Regions from separate parts of the Homo sapiens genome. Here all the other regions are linked to region 2. Evidence: promoter capture Hi-C in 16 types of primary human blood cells and fetal thymus (Javierre and others, 2016). All regions are on one chromosome and are shown on one strand. Each heading gives the region's core, a stretch centred on a gene start or on the middle of the fragment in contact. The rest is flanking DNA. Distances are from core to core; before and after follow the strand shown. Region 1 overlaps BRIP1 (BRCA1 interacting DNA helicase 1). Region 2 holds the start of TBX2 (T-box transcription factor 2). Region 3 overlaps BRIP1 (BRCA1 interacting DNA helicase 1). Region 4 overlaps BCAS3 (BCAS3 microtubule associated cell migration factor). Region 5 overlaps BCAS3 (BCAS3 microtubule associated cell migration factor). Region 6 overlaps BCAS3 (BCAS3 microtubule associated cell migration factor). Region 7 overlaps BRIP1 (BRCA1 interacting DNA helicase 1).

Evidence for each region. The method cuts DNA at HindIII sites, captures the fragments that hold promoters and counts their contacts. A CHiCAGO score of 5 or more calls a contact.
Region 1: a contact is called between a fragment that was not itself captured here and the fragment with the promoter of TBX2 in region 2, in 7 of 17 cell types (monocytes, total B cells, naive CD8 T cells and 4 more). The highest score is 7.9, in monocytes.
Region 3: a fragment that was not itself captured here is called in contact with the fragment with the promoter of TBX2 in region 2 in 3 of 17 cell types (total B cells, monocytes and naive CD8 T cells); the score reaches 6.9 in total B cells.
Region 4: a contact is called between a fragment that was not itself captured here and the fragment with the promoter of TBX2 in region 2, in 2 of 17 cell types (megakaryocytes and M1 macrophages). The highest score is 5.4, in megakaryocytes.
Region 5: a fragment that was not itself captured here is called in contact with the fragment with the promoter of TBX2 in region 2 in 13 of 17 cell types (megakaryocytes, naive CD4 T cells, M0 macrophages and 10 more); the score reaches 12.9 in megakaryocytes.
Region 6: a contact is called between a fragment that was not itself captured here and the fragment with the promoter of TBX2 in region 2, in 3 of 17 cell types (megakaryocytes, M2 macrophages and erythroblasts). The highest score is 8.9, in megakaryocytes.
Region 7: a fragment that was not itself captured here is called in contact with the fragment with the promoter of TBX2 in region 2 in 1 of 17 cell types (total B cells); the score reaches 5.6 in total B cells.

The regions. Positions count from the first base shown.
Region 1 is chr17:61,842,626-61,845,824 of GRCh38, forward strand. The region is part of intron 6 of BRIP1 (BRCA1 interacting DNA helicase 1); the gene reads right to left. Among named protein-coding and RNA genes, the nearest start is that of BRIP1, 19 kb to the right of the region's middle. The HindIII fragment of the contact is 1,501 bases long and covers 1,062-2,562 here.
Region 2 is chr17:61,398,257-61,401,554 of GRCh38, forward strand. TBX2 (T-box transcription factor 2) reads left to right here and starts at 1,587. Exons shown (of 7, transcript NM_005994.4): 1 at 1,587-2,315. The coding sequence starts at 1,921. TBX2-AS1 (TBX2 antisense RNA 1) reads right to left here and starts at 1,350. Exons shown (of 2, transcript NR_125751.1): 1 at 983-1,350. RefSeq lists promoters at 544-1,804, 1,424-1,671 and a cis regulatory region at 1,660-1,671. The HindIII fragment of the contact is 11,976 bases long and covers 1-3,298 here.
Region 3 is chr17:61,859,300-61,862,137 of GRCh38, forward strand. BRIP1 (BRCA1 interacting DNA helicase 1) reads right to left here. Exons shown (of 20, transcript NM_032043.3): 2 at 2,148-2,270; 3 at 497-608. The coding sequence starts at 2,240. Among named protein-coding and RNA genes, the nearest start is that of BRIP1, 2.8 kb to the right of the region's middle. The HindIII fragment of the contact is 1,636 bases long and covers 542-2,177 here.
Region 4 is chr17:60,924,094-60,927,172 of GRCh38, forward strand. BCAS3 (BCAS3 microtubule associated cell migration factor) reads left to right here. Exons shown (of 24, transcript NM_017679.5): 13 at 314-407. Among named protein-coding and RNA genes, the nearest start is that of BCAS3-AS1, 210 kb to the right of the region's middle. The HindIII fragment of the contact is 4,676 bases long and covers 1-3,079 here.
Region 5 is chr17:61,026,221-61,029,360 of GRCh38, forward strand. All of the region lies in intron 16 of BCAS3 (BCAS3 microtubule associated cell migration factor), which reads left to right. Among named protein-coding and RNA genes, the nearest start is that of BCAS3-AS1, 110 kb to the right of the region's middle. The HindIII fragment of the contact is 222 bases long and covers 1,697-1,918 here.
Region 6 is chr17:60,942,479-60,945,753 of GRCh38, forward strand. The region is part of intron 13 of BCAS3 (BCAS3 microtubule associated cell migration factor); the gene reads left to right. Among named protein-coding and RNA genes, the nearest start is that of BCAS3-AS1, 190 kb to the right of the region's middle. The HindIII fragment of the contact is 5,117 bases long and covers 1-3,275 here.
Region 7 is chr17:61,813,379-61,816,433 of GRCh38, forward strand. All of the region lies in intron 6 of BRIP1 (BRCA1 interacting DNA helicase 1), which reads right to left. Among named protein-coding and RNA genes, the nearest start is that of BRIP1, 49 kb to the right of the region's middle. RefSeq lists an enhancer at 2,380-3,055. The HindIII fragment of the contact is 1,586 bases long and covers 756-2,341 here.

The sequences.
Region 1 (3,199 bases), core at 562-3,061, 440 kb after region 2:
TAATATTATTAGTCGGTATTATATAGAATCTTTTATCAGCAGCAGCTAAAGGTAAGAACTACAAATATGTATCCATCTGCTGCTGTTACTACTACTACAGCTGCTGCTACTTCTACTACCACTTGGCGCTTAAACTCTAAGGTATGCCAGATACTCTCAGCACTGTATAGATATCAACTTGTTTAATCCTCCTAACGGCCCCGTGAGATAGGTACTATTACTAACCCCATTTAACAAATAGCTAAACATAATACCAAGAGTTTAAAAAATCAAGGTTATACAGTTAATAAAGAGTAGAGCTATGATTAAAATCCAAGCAGTCTCAAGATATGAAAATAACCTAAGTGTCTGTCAATGGATGAATAAAGAAAATGTGGTGTGTATGTGTATGTCAATGGAATATTAGCCCTAAAAAAGATCCTGCTATTTGTGACAACATGGATGAACCTGGAGGGAGGACATTATGCAAAGTGAAATATGTCAGATGTAGAAGGAAAAATACTACATGATCTCACTTATACGTGGAATCTAAAAAAGTCAAATACATAGAAACAGAAATCAGAACAATGGTTACTGGGGCAGGGAGGTGGGGGATTTGAGGAGATGTTGATCAAAGAGTAAAAAGTTGAATCTACATAGGATGAATCAAGTCTAGAGATCTAATGAACAGCATCATGACAACAGTTAATAATACTATATTCTAGGCTGGATATTTCGATATTGGCTTTAAAATTTTCAGGTGTTCTCAACACACACACACACACAAAAGGTAACTATGTAAGGAGATGAATATATTAATTAGCTTGTGATATGATTTGGAAGTGTGTCCCCTCCAACTCTCATGCTGAAATGTGATCCCCCAAGTTGGAGGTGGGGCCTAGTGTAAAGTGCTTGGGTCATCAATGGCTGGTGCCCTCCTCACAGTAATGAGTTGAGTTCTTGCTCTGAGGTCACACGAGATCTGGTTATTTAAAACAGTGTGGAACCTCCTCTGCTCTCTCCTCTGTCCTCTCTTTCCATGTGACAAGTTTGCTCTCTCTTTGTCTTCTGGCATGCTTGTAAGCTTCTTGAGGCCCTCACCAGAAGCAGATGCTGACACCATGCTTCCTGCACAGCCTACAGAACTGTGAGTGAAAATAAACCTCTTTTCTTTATAAATTGCCCAGCCTCTGGTATTGCTTTATAACAATTCAAACAGACTATCACAGCTTGGCTGTAGTAATAATTTCACTATGTATATATATATTAAAACATCATGTTTTACACCTAAAATATATATAATTTTTATTTTATGTATTTATTTTTTATTTTTTTTTAGAGACAGGGTCTCGCTCTGTCACCCAGACTGGAGTACAGTGGTTCAATCATAGTTCAATACAGCCTCAATCTTCTGGCTCAAGGGATCCCCCTCCCTCAGCCTCCTGAGTAGCTAGGACTACAAGTACACACCACCACACACAGCTATTTTTTTTCTTCTATTCTTTATAAAGACAGGGTCTCGTTATGTTGCCCAGGTTGGTCTTGAACTCCTGACCTCAAGCAATCCTCTCACCTTGGCCTCCCAAAGTGCTGAGATTATAGGCATGAGCCATGATGCCTGGCCCAATCTTTATTTAAAAATTAAGATCAGGCAGTATGTGTCCAAAGTCCATTCTCTTAACCAATAAAAACAAAACAAGCCAGGTGCAGTGATTCATGCCTATAATCCCAAAACTCTGGGAGGCCCAGGCAAGAGGATCACTGGAGGCCATGAGTTTGAGACCAACCTGGGCAACACAGTGAGACCTCATCTCTACAAAAAATAAAAATAAAAAATTAGCTGGGCATGGTGTTGCACAGCTGTAGTCCTTGCTATTCAGGAGGCTGGGGTTGGAGGATCACTTGAGCCTGGGATTTTGAGGTTACAGTGGGCTATGATCACACCACTGCGTTACAACATGGGCAACACATTGAGACCCTGTGTCTACAAATAAAGCAAACAAAAACAATTCCCAAGAAAAAAAAATCTTAATCACAGGTGACTCTATACTTGATTTGTTTATCTGTGAGCTTCTACATATTTCTTTCCTTATCTTGGTGTTAGAACCCTATTTAGGTGGCTCCAGGACTGCAAAGAGGCATTTTAGAGAGAATATAAAATAAAGTGATTAGGGCATTTGCCAGAACATGAGAATGCCTAGGCAGGATTTAGCTCTACTATTTACTAGCTTTGTGATCTTAGGCCAGTTTCTTCCTTCTCAGAGTTTCCTCATCTGTACGATGGGAATACCAATATACCTGCTTCATAATCATTGTAAGAACTCAGTAACATTCAACAAATAAATATTTATTAGACAACTAATATGCACCATATGCTATTCTAGGCATGAGGGACACACATGAAAAAGACTGACATTACATCGTAATAGGACAGACAAATAATAAACAAGTAATCAAGTAATTTCAGATAATAGTAAGCCCATGAAGGAAAGGAAAGAAAATGAATGAGAAAACACTGTGGCAGAGCTCAACATATAGCTTACATTATAATGATGTTGATGATTATTGCAATTTAACAGAAGAAGCTTCTACATAATTTCTCCAACTATTAATATAAAGCTTCAGTGAAGATCACCAACAAAACACAAATTAAATGTACAGTAACTGAAAACAAATCTGTGGTTGCCTGGGAATGGGGGGACAGGGCAGAAAAAAGGTCCATCAGTCTATCTTGCACTTAGGATGGACCTTTTCTAGGCATCATTTTGCAATATCATGCACTGGTCATTTAAATAATATTTAGTTCGCTGAGTTTAAGTTCATTGAGTTTTACAGATCTTACAAATGTTGACACATTTCATTATATAAATATAAAAAGTCATATTCTGTAATATCACCAATTTCATCAGAAAAGTCTGTAGTTATCACAAAGCTGCCAAGCTCAGAGTATATACAAATTTTTTAAAATTCTGATTTTCACTTGAAAGCTCAAATTTTATCTGGCTCATTTTATCATAAAGAATTACCATGGTTAGTATATCATTCACTCTTTTTCAAGCAAAAATGATGTTCCATGACAAAAAGTGGCTAGTCAGCTCACAATCCAAACTATCCTACAGGCGCTTCTCCCCAGGACATCCATCCTGCTTCTGTATGCAAAAGTGTTTTATGAGTTCTATTCATTTCTTCAGACAGAATGTTAAAAACCTAAACGGCTGAG
Region 2 (3,298 bases), core at 337-2,836:
GAGTTGTGAGGGCCCTGGGGTCGGCCCCGAAAAGTAGGGATAACGGTCGCAGAGGCCATACTGCTTCCGCCGGTCCCGAATCCGCACTGCCAGGAGAGATCCGGCCTTCAAACGCTGCTCCCAACGTTCAACAACGAAGTGCCCTGCGACCGGTGTGCGCAGTGGGCGGGCGCCTGCATGGGTCAATGTTGGATGTACGCGCCCACCACGCGGTTGTACGGGTGGGAATGTCACCCGTGGCTAGTGCATGCTCTGTCTTTTCCTTCAGAAAACGACCTTCAGGAATCAGCCTGAGTGTTCGCGCCCGAGCCCGATTGGAAGCAGGTGCGTGGTCGCTTCACTCTCCCCGTGCACACCTTGAGTTATAGCTCTCGCTGCGCACAGAGGGCACCACACGGGGCCCGACACACACACACACACACACACACACACACACACACACACACACACCATCACTTCATGGGGGGGAAACTGAGGCTGCCGGAAGACAGAAAACGAAGACTGATCACAGAAGAGGGGGCTTCAATCACAGGTGCTCGCAGACACCCCAACTCCCTCACGCGTTACTCAGCACTCCTTAACTTAGGAGACGTGCGCTTCCGAGAGATGAGAAGAAACTAAAAAAGTGGTTGGCAGGGCGAAGAGAGGAAGCCGGTATTTCGGAAGAAGGAGACTTTCGTCTCCGGTACCGGATAGGGCGAAAATTCGTTGGGTCGCGGGTGGAGAATCCGGGGTCCGCCCGCGCGGTGCCGCCCTGTGCTCAGCGAAAGGTGCGCTCACCTTCCTGGCCCCGAGGATCCGCTCCTCCCGGCCGCTGGAAAGCTCAGGGCGGGGCCCGGGCCTGCGGAGAACTCCAGGTTCCTTCCGAGTCTTCCGGTGAAGGCGGGCGCGGGTAGGGGGTCCCCGCGTTTCCCCAGCGCAAGGCCGCGTCCCGCTCCCGCCCGCGCCGGCCCCAGCAGGGCTCGGCCATGGCTCCACTCACCAGCTCCCGCCACCTGGGATCCGCTCCCGGACCTCGGCCGCCCGAGCCTCCCGACTCGCCCGCCCACCGGCCTCGCTTTCCAGTGCCTGCTGTCTCTTTCCGGGGCGCAGGGACCCCCAGGCGGCGCCACGACCCGGAGCTGGGTCGGAGGCCAGGCTGGGGCTCGGGCCAGAGCGGCCGGGCCTCTGGGCGCGGGAGAAGGAGGGCGCCCCCTCTCCGCTCGGGGTCGTGTCAATGCTTTGCACTTGGGGCCGGCGTGCGGCTGCGGGTCCTTCCCCAAGGCCCCGGGACCCGGGCTCCCCTCGCCTCAGGCCCTTTCGGCGGGTCAGGTCGGCCCTCCGCGCTCTCCAGTCCGGCGCAGGCAGCCGCAGGCGCGGGCGGGCGGTGGGGGCCGGGGCAGGAGGAGGGGTCTCGGGGCCCGGCGGCCCGTCATTGGTTAATATTTTATTCTGTTGACATGTTTTCTTACTGCTGAGGCTTCCGACACCTTCTCCCAGGCCCCCCCTCCCGGCCGGAGCTTGGCCTGAGCTGTCAAAACCCCGCCCCCGGAGACCCACAATTGGTCCAAAAAGCGTAAAATCAGCAATCAAGGGGGGCCTGGCTCGTTAGCGCAGGGGATCCGAGCTGGGCAGGACATGTGAGATAGTCACAGTTTTCCAGAGATCACGACAAGATCTAACCAGTCGCGCGTGGTCCCCGGCGCCGGAGCGGGCCAGCTCAGCCCGGCCCAGCCCGGCCCCGCGCAGAGCCCCCGCCGCCCCCGCGCACAGAGCCGGGTGCCCCTTGCGGTGCGCCGGACGGGAAGCCCCGAGGAGCAGCTGCTGCGCCCGCCACCCGGGTCGTCCGTCCACCGCGCGCGCCGCCGCCCGGGCCGGGGGTCCGAGCCGCGCGCCCCCGGCCCCGGCCCCGGCCCCCGGGCGCCTGGGCCGGATGTCCCGATGAGAGAGCCGGCGCTGGCGGCCAGCGCCATGGCTTACCACCCGTTCCACGCGCCACGGCCCGCCGACTTCCCCATGTCCGCCTTTCTGGCGGCGGCGCAGCCCTCCTTCTTCCCGGCACTCGCGCTGCCGCCCGGCGCGCTGGCCAAGCCGCTGCCCGACCCGGGCCTGGCGGGGGCGGCGGCCGCGGCGGCGGCGGCGGCAGCAGCGGCCGAGGCGGGGCTGCACGTCTCGGCACTGGGCCCGCACCCGCCCGCCGCGCATCTGCGCTCCCTCAAGAGCCTGGAGCCCGAGGACGAGGTGGAGGACGACCCCAAGGTGACGCTGGAGGCCAAGGAGCTGTGGGACCAGTTCCACAAGCTAGGCACGGAGATGGTCATCACCAAGTCCGGGAGGTAGGGCTGCCGGCCGGCTGGAAGGCGCGCGGGCGGGCGGGCGGGCTGGGGCACGGGACTGCACGGATCAGAGCAGAGCTGGGGACTCCCGGCTCCCGGCTCCCGGCTCCAGGTTCTGGCCCTGACGCCACGCTTCGCTCCCACGGACAACCAAGTTGACTTTTCTCGTTTGGCACCGGAGCGATTTTTTTTTAAAACAAAAACGCTAAAATCCTCCGAATGAAATAAAACGAAAACATACTGCTAAAGAATAGCCCCAACCGTTCTGAGTCCCAGCGCAGAGGAGGCCCCGCGGCTTGGCCCTGGCGGTCTCCTCCGCCCCGCGCTCTCGCTCTTCTGCGTCCGGGTCCGTCTCCGAGCTCGGGGGAAATTCAGCCTCTCTCAGACTCTGCTCCGACCCCGAAGCCCCTAGTGGGACCTGGGCCCAGCTAACCCCACGCTGGTTGCTCGGTTCCTGGCAGCGAGCCCCGGGTCAGCCGAGCCCTCCGCCTCACCGGGCTGGGAGCCCTTTCTCCACCGCGGGCATCCGAGCCCTGGACGCATCCGCCGCCCCAGGCCTTAAAGCCTGAAGAAAGCCACAGCCCCGGCCCCTCCACCCTTCGACTCAGCCACCGAGAATCCAGGCCTCGGGTTCACCCTCTTCCCCCGAACTGCACGGCCAGGATGTCTTATCAGGCTCTGTAGCCCAGTTCCCAATACAAACACCCTCCAGATTTATTTCTGGGAGCTTCCGTCCCAAGTGGGTATTTCCCCTGAACGAATTTCGGGGAGATTAAGGAGAAGCGAGAATATTTCTAGAGGGCCTAGACTTCTCTCCTGGGCATCAGCTTTCATCTCAGATCAGGGAGAAAGAGGGTCCCCAGATCTGAGCACAAGGCCTAAAGGAGGCTGTTTAGGAGAGGGTCTGACAGGCAGAAATGGGATCTCCTGGGAGCAACAACCACAGGTGGGGTCGTCCGGGCAGTGATGAGAGGGCAGAGCAG
Region 3 (2,838 bases), core at 110-2,609, 460 kb after region 2:
TTTTACATACAAATTATCATCTAATTATTTTTATAATAACTCTAAGCATCCAAAACTTTGTTTGTTTGTTTTCTTTCACCCAGGCTGGAGTGCACAATCACAGCTCTCTGCAACCTCGACCTCCTGGGCTCAAGCGATCCTACCACCTCAGTCTCCCAAGTAGCTGGGACTACAAGTGTACATCACCATGCCTGGCTAATTGATTGTCAATTTTTGTAGAGATGGGGTATCACCATGCTGCCCAGGCTGCCAAGTCTTTATGTACTTTCCGACTCATCAAAAGACTAAATTATGTTCAATACTATTTTAGCATTAATTAAACATATTTTGCTATATTGAAACTCTTTTGGAAGATTTATAACTTATTTCAAAGAAACATCTTTAAACAAATATTTAAGTTAGCGACAGCATGGCTGAACCAGTCTGGATAAAGAATACTGTATTATATTTTCTCAGATCCCAGTAAGTAACCTGAAGATATCAAGCAACTACTTACCACTAAGAGATTGTTGCCATGCTAAAGCAGAACAAAGTAAGGCTAAGCTTTTTCCACTTCCTGTGGGACTCTCCAACAAACAATGTTGCTTGCTGTTTAATCCTCTGAGAATCTATGAACACAGAAACCAATGAAAATAATAAACATATTAACTTTATAAAGGTCTCTCTCCATCTGAAGTTTAAATAGAACAGCAAGGAAAAGTGAGATTGCACTCCAGGGAACACAACAATAGCAGAAGGAACTCATATTTAGTTAAATCCAAACTGTATTCCTTTACACCTCTCCCTAAGATTATCTTACTAAAATATCAAGCACAAGAGAAGAAATGAAAAGAGGAATCTGTGCCAGAATTATGCAAGCATCAATGATTTCTGTAAAACCAGAATACATTACTACCTATCAATATATTTGATGAAAACTTAATGAAGGATACTGCTAGTGAGAGTACAAATTGTTACAACTACTTGGTAGAGAAATAAACAATTTCTTATAAAGTGAAGATGCCCAGCTCCAGCAAGTCCAGTTCTATGTGTACACCCAAAACCTTTCCCACATGAACACAAGGAAACATGCATAAGAAAGTTCACAGCAGCAGCCACGCTTGTAATCCCATCACTTTGGGAGGCCAAGGCAGGTGGATCATTTGAGGTCAGGAGTTCGAGACCAGCCTGGCCAACACGGTGAAAACCCGTCTCTACTAAAAATCCAAAAATTAGCTGGGCGTGGTGGCGCATCCCTGTAATCCCAGCTACTGGGGAGGCTGAGGCAGGAGAATAGCTTCAGCCTGGGAGGCAGGGGTTGCAGTGAGCCAAGATCGCGCCACTGCACTCCAATCTGGGCGACAGAGTGAGACGCTGTCTCAAAAACAAAAAGAAAAAAGGAAGTTCACAGCAGCATTGTTTGTAACTGCAAAAGAATGTAAACAACCTAAATGTCTACCAATAAGAAAATGGACAGATAAATTCTGGTATATTCATCCAATGGAATTTATACAACAATTAAAATGGATTAAGAATCAACAGGGCTATACATTAAAAATAATGCTAAGTTAAAAAACTCAAGTTCTGCATAAAAAGTAAGGTACCGTATCACATCAATGCACAGTTTCAAATATGTAAAATAATATTCTATATTGTTTATGGATACATATATATGTAATAAAAGTATAAAAACATGGCTAGGAAAGGAAAAGAACAAATTCAGGATACTAATAATCTTGTTACCAGTAAATAAGATATGAAGTACATATGGCAAAATAGCTGTAACAAAACTGGAAAGCTGGTTTACTCAAATTTGTATATTAATTTTCTACATGATCCAAACAAAACAATGGTGAGAAAAATAGTATTCTGTGTAAAAGATAGTAAATACTCTGTTTTTACTTAAAAGTATAGCAGTTTTTCATTAAAAGTATAGAAATTCCAAATGAGCTGAGAACATTTTTCAGAATGTTCTTCTTTGCCTTAACCACAGATATATACAGTTTAGCTGCAATCAGTAGTTTCCCAGAGGTTAGATATTCTTCCAAGTGAACCCAGAAAATATTCTCCATTTACTGAGAATATGAATGCAGTCAAATACTCAATGTACTTTATGGGTCATAAGTATCTATATCTTAATAAAAACTTAACTGCTGAAAAATACTTACAGAATTCATCATAGCAAGCTGTGACGGGTAAGCTTTATAAGGAAAGTAAATCTTCACCCCACCAATTGTATATTCAGACCACATTGAAGACATAGTGCTTTCCTGTTTATTTCAGATTCCTAACTACAACAGAAATGAAAATGTCAAATATTGAGACACGCCTTACAAAGAAAACCAGAGAACCAAAACTAAGGGAGAAATCTGGAAACAGAAACTGGAATTAATAAAAGTATAAACAAAACAAATGGAAACAAAATAATTTCCTAGTCTTATAAATCACAGCGGTCAAGAGCATGTCTTAGAGTCTAACAAATCTAGATTTGTATCCTTCACTCTGCCAGGTATTAGTTGTGTGACTTCGGGAAAGTTAGTTACCTTCTCTAAGCCACAGTGACTGCATGTACCCCATAGGATTGTGGTAATGATTAAGTGAAATAATGTGCAAATATGATAAAGTACATACCAGATTAAACATGAGCTCTTGTAACAGTTAGATCAGATGTAATCAACCTACAGAAACAAATAAGTTCCTGAGGCCTCTCTCTCTACAACTCCGTAGCATCACTCTTTCTCCAGTTCTTCCCCTTTGTGTTACCCCTTTCTGCAGTCCTCCAGTTAGAAGAAAAAAGCTGTTGACCAGAAGTCAGGAAGCATAGGTTCTATACCAGGTTTTGGTATACTGCCTGGTATG
Region 4 (3,079 bases), core at 343-2,842, 470 kb before region 2:
TAAAGAATTGAAAATAGTTGATTGTATCATTTTTTTTCCTCTGAACCTATACTTGAAGAAGTAATTGTTTCTGTCATCTACAGTCAAGTCAGCTGACTCTTTTTAGAGTTTATATGACTGATGTGCGTGGGGGCATGTTATATCTCTTCCTCAATTCTAAAGTGGAATTCTCTCCTTATATTGGCAAGAATAATCTGCTAGAGTGGAAACATGTTATTTGGTCAGTGGTTTGTGATGTGCCTTCTTATAGGCTTCAAGCTCGGTTATCAGTGAGAAAATATTTACCTCCATTTGTCTTTATTTCTTTGTGAAGGTGCTTGTGAGTGAGGATTCTGACAGTGATGGCATTGTGGCCCACTTCCCTGCCCATGAGAAGCCAGTGTGCTGCATGGCTTTTAATACAAGTGGTAAGTTCGCTCTCTGTCTTTTTTTTTTTTTTTTTTGTAGACCATTTATATAATGGGTTTTCCAGCCAAATATGGAATATGGAATCTGACTTTTCTTCATGTATCAGTATATATCAGAAAAGTTATTAAGTCATTATATTGAATAAAGGAATTTATAATAAAAATTTAGTACCCCTCTAAAATCCCTCTAAAATTGGTTTTGTTCTCGATAAAGTAGCTATTAAATAGCAGCCATTTAAACAATGCTGTTGAGTTACATGAATTTCTGTTTATAATTACTCCAAGAACTTCAGTATTCCAAACTAGAATATTAATGGATATGAGCAGTATTTTTTTTTTGTAACTTGAAGTTTTGTGTAACTAACTTACAACACTTTGTAAGCTAATTTAATTTTCTCGGTTTTTTTTTTAGTGGTGCTCTTTTTCTTTTTCTTCTTAAGGTTTACTCCTTACATTTTGTTATATCTTTTTAGTTCCTTTTAATATAGCATACAATTTGTACTCTTAATTTTCTTTTCACAATATCCAGAGTAGTTGTCTTATTTAAATTCTGCATTTGTAAGATTTTTAAATTTTTATTTTACTATTTTTTTAAAAAAAGATAAAGACAGAGTCTCACTATGCTGCCCAGGCTGGTCCTGAACTCCTGGCCTCAAGTAATTCTCCTGCCTTAGCCTCCCAAAGTATTGCCACGATGCTTGGCCAGATTTTTTTCATTATGATAATGTTTTTGTATTTCTCCATTCCCTGGATATCTATCTGTTTAACTGGAAGTTAAGTCTAGAGGTATAAATCCATTCAGGCTAAGGAGTTTTTGTTTGTTTGTTTCTAAACTTCGTAAGTATTGCGTCTACATCATTTCATCCCAATAGGAGACACATTATTTTAGGTTGTCTCCCTATTTGTGGTGCTATATTTGATCACATGAGTAAAGTAATGACTATCAAGTATCTACATTATTGGAAATAGGTTTTTCTTATGGAGATTAACAAGTACTCTACAGTATGTCATTTTGACATTATTTCTGAAGCAACTTTTTAATTAATAATTTTGTTACATTGAAGGTTGTAGAATGGTGGGTTGTTTTCTTAATTCTGTCCTGGTCTCTGCATTTATTGACTGTTATTCTTCTATAGAAAACGTTTTCTCTCATCAGCCAGGAGTAAACAGCCTTTCTCCTGTATATCAAAAGTGGTATAAATGCCTAATTCTCTCTCTCTCTTTTTCTTTTAAATGACCAATTTTCACAGTAAGGAGTTGGTGTAATACTTCCAGTGGTAGGAAACAAGTTACAGGTTGAGTACTTTATGTCTGAAATGCTTGGGACTAGAAGTCTTTCTGATTTTAGATTTTTTTTTTTTGATTTTGGAATATTTGCATATATAATGAGTTATCTTGGCGGTGGGACCCAAGTCTAAATACAAAATTTATTTGTTTCATGTATACCCTATACACATAGCCTGAAGGTGATTTTGTACAATATTTTAAGTGATTTTGTGCATGAAACATAGTTTTGACTCCGTTTTAACTGAGACTTTGTACATGAGGTCAGGTGTGGATTCTCCAGTTGTGGCATCATGTCAGTGCTCCAGTTCTGGAGCATTTCAGAGCATTTTGGTTTGCATTATAAGAAGAACATAAATTTCTGTGAGGATTTTGGTTTTTCAGATTAGGAATGCTCAATCTGTATTTTAAAAATACTTTGTAAATAAAACTGCTCTTTTGTTTTCAGAGCTGGTATAGTCATCATAAACTTGCAGTCTTTTCAGATCTTACCCATTTGGTTGATGTATCTAAGGAGCATGCTACTTTTAATCTTAGTTTTCAGAAATGATTATATCACTTAAAATTGATGGGAAAAGCCAATCCTTTTCCCCTTCTTTTCATCTTTTCAAATAAAGAATGATAGTAAGGGATTATCATTATATAGAGATATTATTTTATAAAGCACTTTAAATAATCTACCCTCTAATATCTTAATAAGTCATCTTTGATTAAGGGAACAGGATTTTTATAGTGATTGGTAATCAGTAGGATTGATTTAATTAATAAAGGCAAGATTTATTGAAATTCTGTGAGTGTTGTGGGAATTAAGTTAAATGTGAAAAAACAGCCTGGAAGTTATGTCACTTGTAGCACTCCACTTGGAATGACCGGTATGACTCATATTGATATTCCATCTGTTATGTCAGATCTCCTTTGTGTTAGTGTATATTTCATATAACCCTACAGTGCTTCTGACACTGGCAGCTGTATTTTTTTCCTGTGACTTTGCATTATAAGAAGAACATATTATATAATATAAAGAGTGTTGTAGTCGTCATAAAATGGTTTCATAATTTTGATCTACATTTGCCATTTGATTTCTTTGTCCTCTCACATTTGTGTTTATACGATAAGGTTAAAAATAGCAATATTTATACCTATTTTTCTGTGTTGCTGGGACACTAGGTTTATAACTATGATGTAATTTATTTTGTGACAATCATTTGTTTAAATATTTGTTTCCCTTGCTAACTTATCTGTTCCTCCTACAAAGAGATCAGATGTCATTAATCTTTGTATCTCTAGTGCTTGGCATGGTGTCTCAGAGTAATAGGAAACTTAGTGAATTATTTTGAACTATTCCCCACTGTAGATGTATGGCACTGTATTAGGCATGGTAGTCTCTA
Region 5 (3,140 bases), core at 558-3,057, 370 kb before region 2:
AGACCAGGTAAAGGAAGCTAACCTCTTAGACCACTATTAAGAGATATCCTAATTTCCTGGATTATGGCCAAAAATAGAGAAAAATTATACTAGTTGTACTTAGTGTTTTTTCCTTTGACCAACAATATACAATTCAACTTACGACAAATAAGCAGCTTGAAAAATATGTGCCTCTTTCTGTGGTTCTGAGACTGGAACCAGTGAAAAGCAGACAATTCATATCAAATTTTTTATCCAGTCATCGTTAGCTAATTTTAACCATTTTGTGTCACATAGCTACACATTTGTTGCTATTGATCTCACTCTTCTCCATCTGGTTATTCCATTTAACTTATACCTTGTTTTAAAGGGCTTCAGCAGTGAATTTTATTTTATTTTAACTTAGAAATACTACAGGGGTGCTCCAGAAAAGGGGGAGAAATAGAAAATTTTGAATCTCTAACTCTGAAAATTAAGGGCCTTGTTACTACACATCATTCTGTTTATTGGTTATATCAGACAGTATGTACAGCAGAATTGTAAATGATTACTAATTTTTTAGTTATTTTTATCCATACTCTATAACAGTATGATATACTTGTATTTGCTAATGTTAAATGAGTTTTTCTCTAATTTTTTGTGCATTTTTCCCCCTTTTCCATGAAGGCCTTATCTCTTTGGAGCGGGGTGTTTTTCCATAAAAGCCCCATGGTGAGTTCCAGTTCAGTCCCGCATGCCTCATTCATTTGCTGTACTCTCAAAAAGTAATTTGTTTTGTAGTTTTGTTTCCAGTTGCATGGCCTGATCACAGATAGATGCACCAAGTTACTGAATAATTTGTAGATGGAACATGAATGTTGATATTTAAGCTTTAGAAAAGTGGTTTTCTTGGTTTCACTTCATTCTTTAAAAAGTAAAAAACAAAAAAAAAAAAACCACAGATGAATTTTTTTTAAATAGAAGAATTCTCTCATAATGCTCGTAAATATTACAAGACAAGGCTAACACCCAAGTTTAAAGCTTTGAGTATTATGGCATTAGAAGTTACCTACATATCATGCATAGCATTTGAGGACATGATTTATTTTGAAATATAAATATATTTAAGGTATACCAAAAGCACCTTATAAAGTTTTTGTTGCATTTTATTTGGTCCTAAAGAGACAAAAGTTCTGTTTTTGAATAGTTTAGGTATTTAAGGAGCTACATAATGACAAAATATATATTTTACATAAAACCTCCTAAATAATTTATTATTTTGAATTATTAGCACATACTCATCATAGCTTAATTATTTGGTAAATTCTTTCATGTCAGTGCACAGAATACAGCTTTGTCAGTCTTAGACAGGAAGGTCATAGAAAAGAATTCGAATATATTTAATACTTTCATGTAAAGATAGGAAGTAGAATGTGTTAAGAATGGTATAAAATGTTTAATGGTTAAGAGTCAGACTGCCTGGGTCTTAGATCCCAATTGACACACTTACTAGCTATATGATTTGGGGGGAGTTTTCTAAAACCTTTCTATTTCTTATTTCCTTATGTATTAAATGTACCTATGTAATGGACTCACTATGAGTATTAAATAAGCTGATACATATCTCAGTATGTGTTAGTATATAACAGTGCCTGGCACATAGTAAATGTGCAGTAAATGTTAGCTGCTACCACTGTTTCTTTTCCTGTTTCAGGGAAAAATACCGTGTTTCAAAAGAAGCTTATTTAAATTAGATTATGTTTTTCACTTTTAAGGATATGTTAACCAGTGCGAAGTTTTGAGAAATGTAAGCTATATTAATTTTATTAATTTAGTCAGAATACTGAAAAGAGTTCTGCACATATGTGTAGTTCTCATAACTGCTAAATGGGGATTGTTCATACTGTTCTATTACACTAGAAAAAAACATTCCAACGTTTTTTCCTCTTGGACAGAAAGAAGCTTAAATAGTTCTTTAAGGTTAATTATTATTTGACACAAACTTATTTCAATGTTTATATGCCATAGGAAGATCTGAAAATTTTGTTATTGCTTAATAATAGGTGACATAAAACAAATCAACATAAAATTTTCCTCCTTGAAAATTATAATTAGACACAGTTTGCAAAACTATTCTAAACAAATTCAGGATATACAAGAATATAAATCTCATGAAAGTTGATCTTTATTCATTTTGTTAACCAGATGTCTTCTAAAAACAAATAAGATACACAGATCTTACTTATGAGCCTTCCAGTGATCAGTGAATTTTAAATGCCACATTCAACATATGACAAAATTTCTTTGTAAACTTAGAATTAAATTCCATTTTAGGATAAATTCTTCTTCTAAGTACAAAGCAAAGAGTTGTAGTATGTTAATAAAGATTGAAGTTTTGCATAGAAGTAAAAGATGGAATAACAACTGTTGTATGTTAAGTAAGTAAAGTTCATTCCTTCAACAGCTTACGTGCTCCTCACATTTAAGCAAAAGCACTTGTCAACCAGAAATGATTTGAGGTTGAAACAAGATTAAAAGAGCCAGATTAAAGAAAGGGATATATTAAATATAGTAGACTTTTAAATCATTGCCTGTCTTTTAGAAGACTGCTTTGTGGTTTGTTTGATGCCATCGTTAGCTCACAAGAAACTCGTTTTTAGTCACTTATACTAGACTAAAAGGTTCTCCTTTAAAATGTTACTTTCCCAGTGGTGCATGTTTTTTCCATTAAGATCTTAATGAAACCTCAAATTAAGGCAGCAAATGAATATAAATTTGACAACTTCTTCCATTTTGTTTATAAGAGCTCCTTTGTTTTAATAGTTTTTGCTATTTTTCCATGTTATTTAGCATTCAACCTGAGAATGTTTTTATGTACTGTTCTGAAATAAAACATTATATGCTAAATAAATATGTTTTTAGTATATCCAGTTATAGGGTAATATATGTATTTTGGATGAAAAATGAAATTTTTAAATGAAATGTAAATTTTCTACAAACTTTTTATTAGTTTCGAGTTGCAACGTTAACACTTAGCTAAGAATTTGCTTTTGGTATATCACAATTTCTGCTAGTTCTTTATTCTCCATTAAACAGGTTTAGTCCTTTACATTCATATACTTTCAGATGAGTCGTTATAAAATACAGTCGTTCCCTTTGGTAACAAAATAAGCTTGTTGGAA
Region 6 (3,275 bases), core at 263-2,762, 460 kb before region 2:
AGTAAGTAAAGAATATAAACTATGTCAATAACCTCATGATCATAGCTAGACATATAATGAGAGGTAAGGTTATATATATTGTTGTAGGTTTAATAATTTATTAAATTATTTATAATAAATGGTACCTTTCATTTTCTAAAATGTATTCTCTTGGAAATAGCCAGGACAGTGGCATCTAGTAGGATATTTTAATATAGTGACTAGAGCTGTACCTTATGTTTGCCAAAGAAATAGCAAACTCAAATTTACTTCATCTTTTCACTGAAATGACTATCTTGTCTTCCCACAGATGCTTAATATTCTTTCATGCCTTTTTGTTCAACAAAACATTAGTTTAAATGCTTATACTAATGTGATTCTGCTTCTGGGAATAGCAAGGTAAACGTAGAAACCATCCTTCCCATAGAAAACATTTATGAAACCTGGACAAAATACAACTGAACAGGCACATAAAGTTAGATATGTGTATTATAATCTCTGGAACAACCAGTAAAATTTTAATATAAAGAGATATAGCTCAAAAGTCCATAGATAAATTATTTATTTTTAACATTCAACAATAAATATTGTTAAAAATAAGTAGTCTCAAAACAGCAAGAAACCATGAGAAGAGAAATAAAACTGAATAAAATGTTGAAATTAGCATTTCATAAAAATTGAATATTCCAAATAAATAGTCCCATAACAGCAAGAAAACATGAAAAGAGAAATAAAAAACAGAAACAAGACAAGCAAAAATAATAATAAATTGGTAGACCTAAGTCCAGCCCTACCAGTAAGTACTAAATATGAATAAACTACAAATACCAATTAAAGGCAGTGATTTGATTGAAAGAGAGTGAGCGAGTGTGAGAGCACCCAACTGTTATCTAAAAGAAGCCTATATTGATAGATATAGAGTAGAAGAATGGAAAATATATACCATGCAAGTACCAATCAAAACAAAGTTGGAGTGGTAAAGTTAATATCAGAAAAAACTAGACCTCAGAGCAAGGAAAATAACCACGGTTAAATCATGTTAAAAGGGTTAATTGACCAAGACTTCATACAATCCTAAATGTGTATGAACCTTGCTCTAAAATTTAGGAAGCTGATATAACTTAGGAAAACTACACATGTCCACAATTATCCTTGGAGACTGTAACTCCTACTCAGTAATGGAACAGAAAGCAGTCAGTCAGTAAGGAAATTGAAGATGCAAACATCACTACCAATTACATACCTTTCTAGAATATATTCTAGGTGTTCAAGTGTATATGGAACAAGGATCATATTTCAAGCCATAAAACAAACTTTAACAAATGTAAAAGAAGTAACTTCTTGTCATAATGAAATTATACTGGCAATAATATCTGAAAGATATCTGGAAAATATCCAAATATTTGGTAACAAAACAATATACCTTTAAATAACCCACGAGCAAAAGACAAAGCAACTAGGAAACATTTAAAACTGAATATAAATGAAATTGCAGCATATCAAAATCTGTTACATTTAGCTAAGCAGGCTTAGAGGGACATTAATACCTATATGTGCTTACTCCAGAAAAGAAGAAAGTTCCTGAAACAATAATCTAAGCTGCTCCCATAAGAAACTCGAAAAAAGGAAGAGCAAATGAACCCAAAACAAGGAGAATAAAGGAAATAATAAATATAGTAACAGAAATCAGTGAAATTGAAAAGAGAAAAACAGAAAGTTATGAAACCAAATAGGTTAACCTTAAAAAGACCTTACCAGACTGGTGAAGAAAAAAAACAGAGAAGACACAGATTACCAATATCGTGAATGAAAAAGTGGATATCATTAATGTCTCTACAGATATTAAAAGGATGAATTCCTTGAATTACAGAAAGTAATTCATCAAAGAAGAAATTTTAAATTAAAAAATTAACAAAATATTTAATGGTAGTTAAAAATCTTCAAAAATAGGCCCAAATATTTTTACTTGAAAATTCCCTTAAACATTTAACGAAGAAATAATAGCAATCCTACATCTTTTTTTTCCCCAGAAATTAACAGAGTAAGGAGCATTCCCATTTGATTATTTGAGGCCTGGATTATCCTAAATATCAAAATCATCCAAACACATTATTAGAAAAGAAAACCACAAATCAGTATTTCTCAGGGACACAGATAAGAAAATATTCAAGAAAATATTAGAAAATTGAATCTAGCTGCTTATAATAAAGGATTTTGACCAAACGAGGCTTATCCCAAGAATGCAAGGCATATTCAACATTTGACAATCAGTTATTGTTAGAATTCGCTATATTAATAGATTTAAAAAGAGAAGCCACATAATCATTTCAATAGCTGCAGAAAAGCACTTGAAAAATTCAATTTTCTTTCATTATAAAAACTCTCAACATATTTTACGAAGGACTTTTACAAAAAACCTATACATAATGTTATACTTAAAGATTGAATGCTTTCCTCCTACAACACAGAAATCTCTCCTTCCTATTTCTGCTTGCCTCAGCAAATGCAGTAAGTCGAGAAAATTGAAGAAAAGGCATGTAGGTCAGAAGGGAAGAAATGAAACTGTGATTGTTCCTAAACTACGTAATTGTCATCAAAGAAAATTCTTGTACTGTATAAAAAAACCCCTAGAACTTGCAGGAAACATACATTGTCAAGATAAAAAATCATCAATTTTATCTCTATGCACTAGCAAGCAAAAATTGATCATTTTAAAAAATATTACCATTTATAATAACTCTAAAAGACAATATTTTCAGAATCTGTGTGTCAAACAAAAAGAAGTCAAAATAGATCTAAATCAAGAAATATGCTGTGTTAATAGATCAGAAGGCACAATATTAGGATAACAGTTGTCCCCAAATTAATTTATTACACTCAATACAGTTCCCTCAAAATCCTAAACAAGAATGGCTAAAATAATGTTGAAAAAGGCAGGAAAAGGCTCATTTTACCTGATTTCAAGATTTTCTGTGAAGTTACAGTAACCAAGAATGTGGTATTAGTGAATGTATAGACACAGAAATTGAATTAATAGAATAGAACTTCAAAAATAGGCCTTGGCCTGGCATGGTAGTTCACGCCTGTAATCCCAGCACTTTGGGAGGCTGAGGTAGGCGGATCTCTTGAGACCAGGAGTTTGAGACCAGCCTGGCCAACATGTCAAAACTCCATCTCTACTAAAAATACAAAAATTAGCCAGGCATGGTGGCGCACACCTGTAGTCCCAGCTACTTGGGAGATTGAGGCATGAGAATCTGTTGAACCCAGGAAGTGGAGGTTGCAGTGAGCCAAGA
Region 7 (3,055 bases), core at 299-2,798, 420 kb after region 2:
CTCATTCATCGAGAGTGGTGTTTTGCACATAACTGTAACTTAGCTTTTTTTAAACTGATGAATTATGACTAAATGTCCCTGAACCAAATACTGTACCCATGCATTACAATTAAATCTGACAGATGCTTAAATGATGTCCTAATTTGAAGTGCTGCACATATCAAAAAGATACTTCAAAATCCAGATTAGCTTTTAAAGGAAAAAGTACAGGACAATTACTATTTTTCAAGGCCAAAAAGAAAAACCATCTTATGCTAGTATTTTAGTCGTGACAAACATATATCCCAATATTTTCATTAGTAATAATACTGCCATTTTTAAGCCTGTCCTTGTGCTAAACATTTTTCATCTAATATCCCATTTCATTCATTCATTGACTCAAGAGACATTGGAATCCCTATATATCAAGCCACGGAGAAGACAATGACAAGGATCACCTCATCTTACTGACAAAGAGAGCTTCATTCTTAAATTGTTCTACAAAGTGTAGTTCTTGGAGTTTATCACACCATTTTCACTCATAAACCAAGGAATTGTTTAAAGTTAGTTATATTATTTTATGAATGCAATTACAAAATATTCCTAAGTATGATCTTCATAAAAATTGTTTTAACTTATTAGTTGACATTTAAATCAAATATGTTATAACAAGATCCATATTATGTCCCCCAAGGGAAAAATAAAAAACACAAACTTTCAATTAATAGACTCTTTAGAGCAAGAGTCAGCAAAAGAGCCAGACAGTAAACATTTCAAGCTTCAAAGGCTATATGGTCTCTTCTTCCATAGGAAGATATCTTTTATGATCGAAATGTAGAGAAGGATTTCCTAAAACAATAAACCAAAAACACAAATGAGTGAAAACACAGCTTCATTAACATGTTAAACTTCTATTTAAAGATACATATTCCTTAAAGAAGGAAAGAAAAATAGGTAAAAAGGGGGCACAGGCTGACAGAAGATACTTGCAGTGCTTACAGTCAAGTGAGGATCAGTATCTACAACATATAAAGAATTCCAATAAATCTATTTTTAAAAGACAAACCCTACAGAAAACCAAGAACAGGCAAATCACAGAAGAGAAAAGCTGAAAGGCTAATAAATATCTGAAAAGATGTGCCATCTAATGTACAGCTTCACTAGTAATTAGGAAAATGCAAATTAAAACCATAATTAGATTCCATTTCCTATCCACCAGATTGGGTACTGGAGAGGATATGAAGAAACTCTTATTCACTGCTGATCGAAGTATAAATTGGCACAACTACTTGAGAGCAAATTGGTGATCTAGTGAAATCAAAGATACATATACCCTTTGACCCAGCATGACACTGTTAGGTATACATGCTAGAAAAACTCTTGCACATTAAGACAGATACAAGAGGAATATTAATTGCAGCATTGTTTTAATAGTGAGAAAAACAAGCTACATGTATCAACAGAAGGAATGGATGAGTAAATTGTGGGCTCTTTCCAATCAATGGAATAATATTATAATGAAAATATATGAATGACAGTTGTATGCATCGACATCGATAAACATGAACAAGCAGTTGAACAGGCTGAGTATGGCTTAAACAAAATTGTATTTTCCCCATAAAATTCTAAATAAGTTGATGATAGAAATAAAAATATAAAACTTCAGGTAGAGAGTGAGGAATCAAGACTATGGAAGATAATCTTAAAAGCTAACAATTGTCATGAAAAACATACCTGAAAAATGCTAGAAGTGCTGGAAAAAAAAAAAAAAACCCACAGTAAATATACTCTGTTCTGGTTTCTCCTCAGTTGTTTCATACCCAGCAGAATAGCTTTCATCTTAACACCTCCTCCTCAAAAGTTTTCAACCTAATTTATTAGGAAATGGGTTCTCAAATTAGGGTCCATGGGCTATTACAGATCACCCAGAAACTACAGACACAATTTTGTGTGCATTTTTAGAAAGTGAACCCCTAACTTTAATCAAGTGCTCAAAGCAGATTGTGACTGATTTGGGTTAGGGCTTTATTCCAGAATTTATATCTGGTTTTTTAACGAAAATCAAATGGAAACAACATTTTCTTTATAACCAAATTAGCCAGACATAGTTATTCTGTAAAGGAATAAACAACAGCCAAGAGAATTTCATAAAGTTTCCTCCACTGCTTCTGAACTCATTTCTATTTTAATGTTTGTTAATTACCTAATATTAACATAAGGCTAAAATACTCAGTTCACTAATGTATATTTCTAACTTCATTTTACAGATAAAAAAGGAAATTCAGAAGAATTCAAATTCCCACAAAATACACAATAAATTTGTGGAGAAGTTGAAATTCATAACCTTAAATCTTTAAAGTGAAGCTTTAACAGGATTGTTTTCATCTACCACTTAAGCAAAAAAGCAAAACACTGCCCTTTATTTCAAAAAGTCATGCATATGAAGAGCTAGTGGTAAAAGGCCAATGAACATAGAATTATACTACAAACTTTGAGACATAAAAAAGGGTTTTTTAATCTTTATCAACCATTTGCTGTTGTCCAAGCCATCTAAACAGGTACTGAATGCCCGTTGTGCAAAATCTCACATTAGCACACACTCTAGTAAGATAGCAAAAGTAACATAACTATACCTTTTCAACTATTCTTTTTTTAAAAATTCAAACAGTAGTAGTACCCTACTGCCACCGTTTCATGATTAGACTGCACAAAGCAGCTGTTTATCCACTCACAGCAACCAGCAGGTGAACCTGATTCAATATTTATCACAGGCTTTCATAGATCACTGCTAACCAAGCAAACGTTTTAATTAAGCTGGAACTTGCTTCAAAGAGCTCATTCAAGATGTCAATCAGCAGGTAGGGGATCAGATACAGTGTCAGGTGAGAGTGTGTAATACAAATCCACAACTTTCTTCATCCCATCGCTGTAAATTAGCCTGCTCTAAAGTTCAGACTCTGATTGTAACAGACTGCCAGTCTCCTGGAATGTGTAACTGAAGTCACTCAAATTCTATTGTGAAGGTTGTAAGCAATATGTTAAACTGCAGTGGGCTAGCACATTAAGACAGATCCTT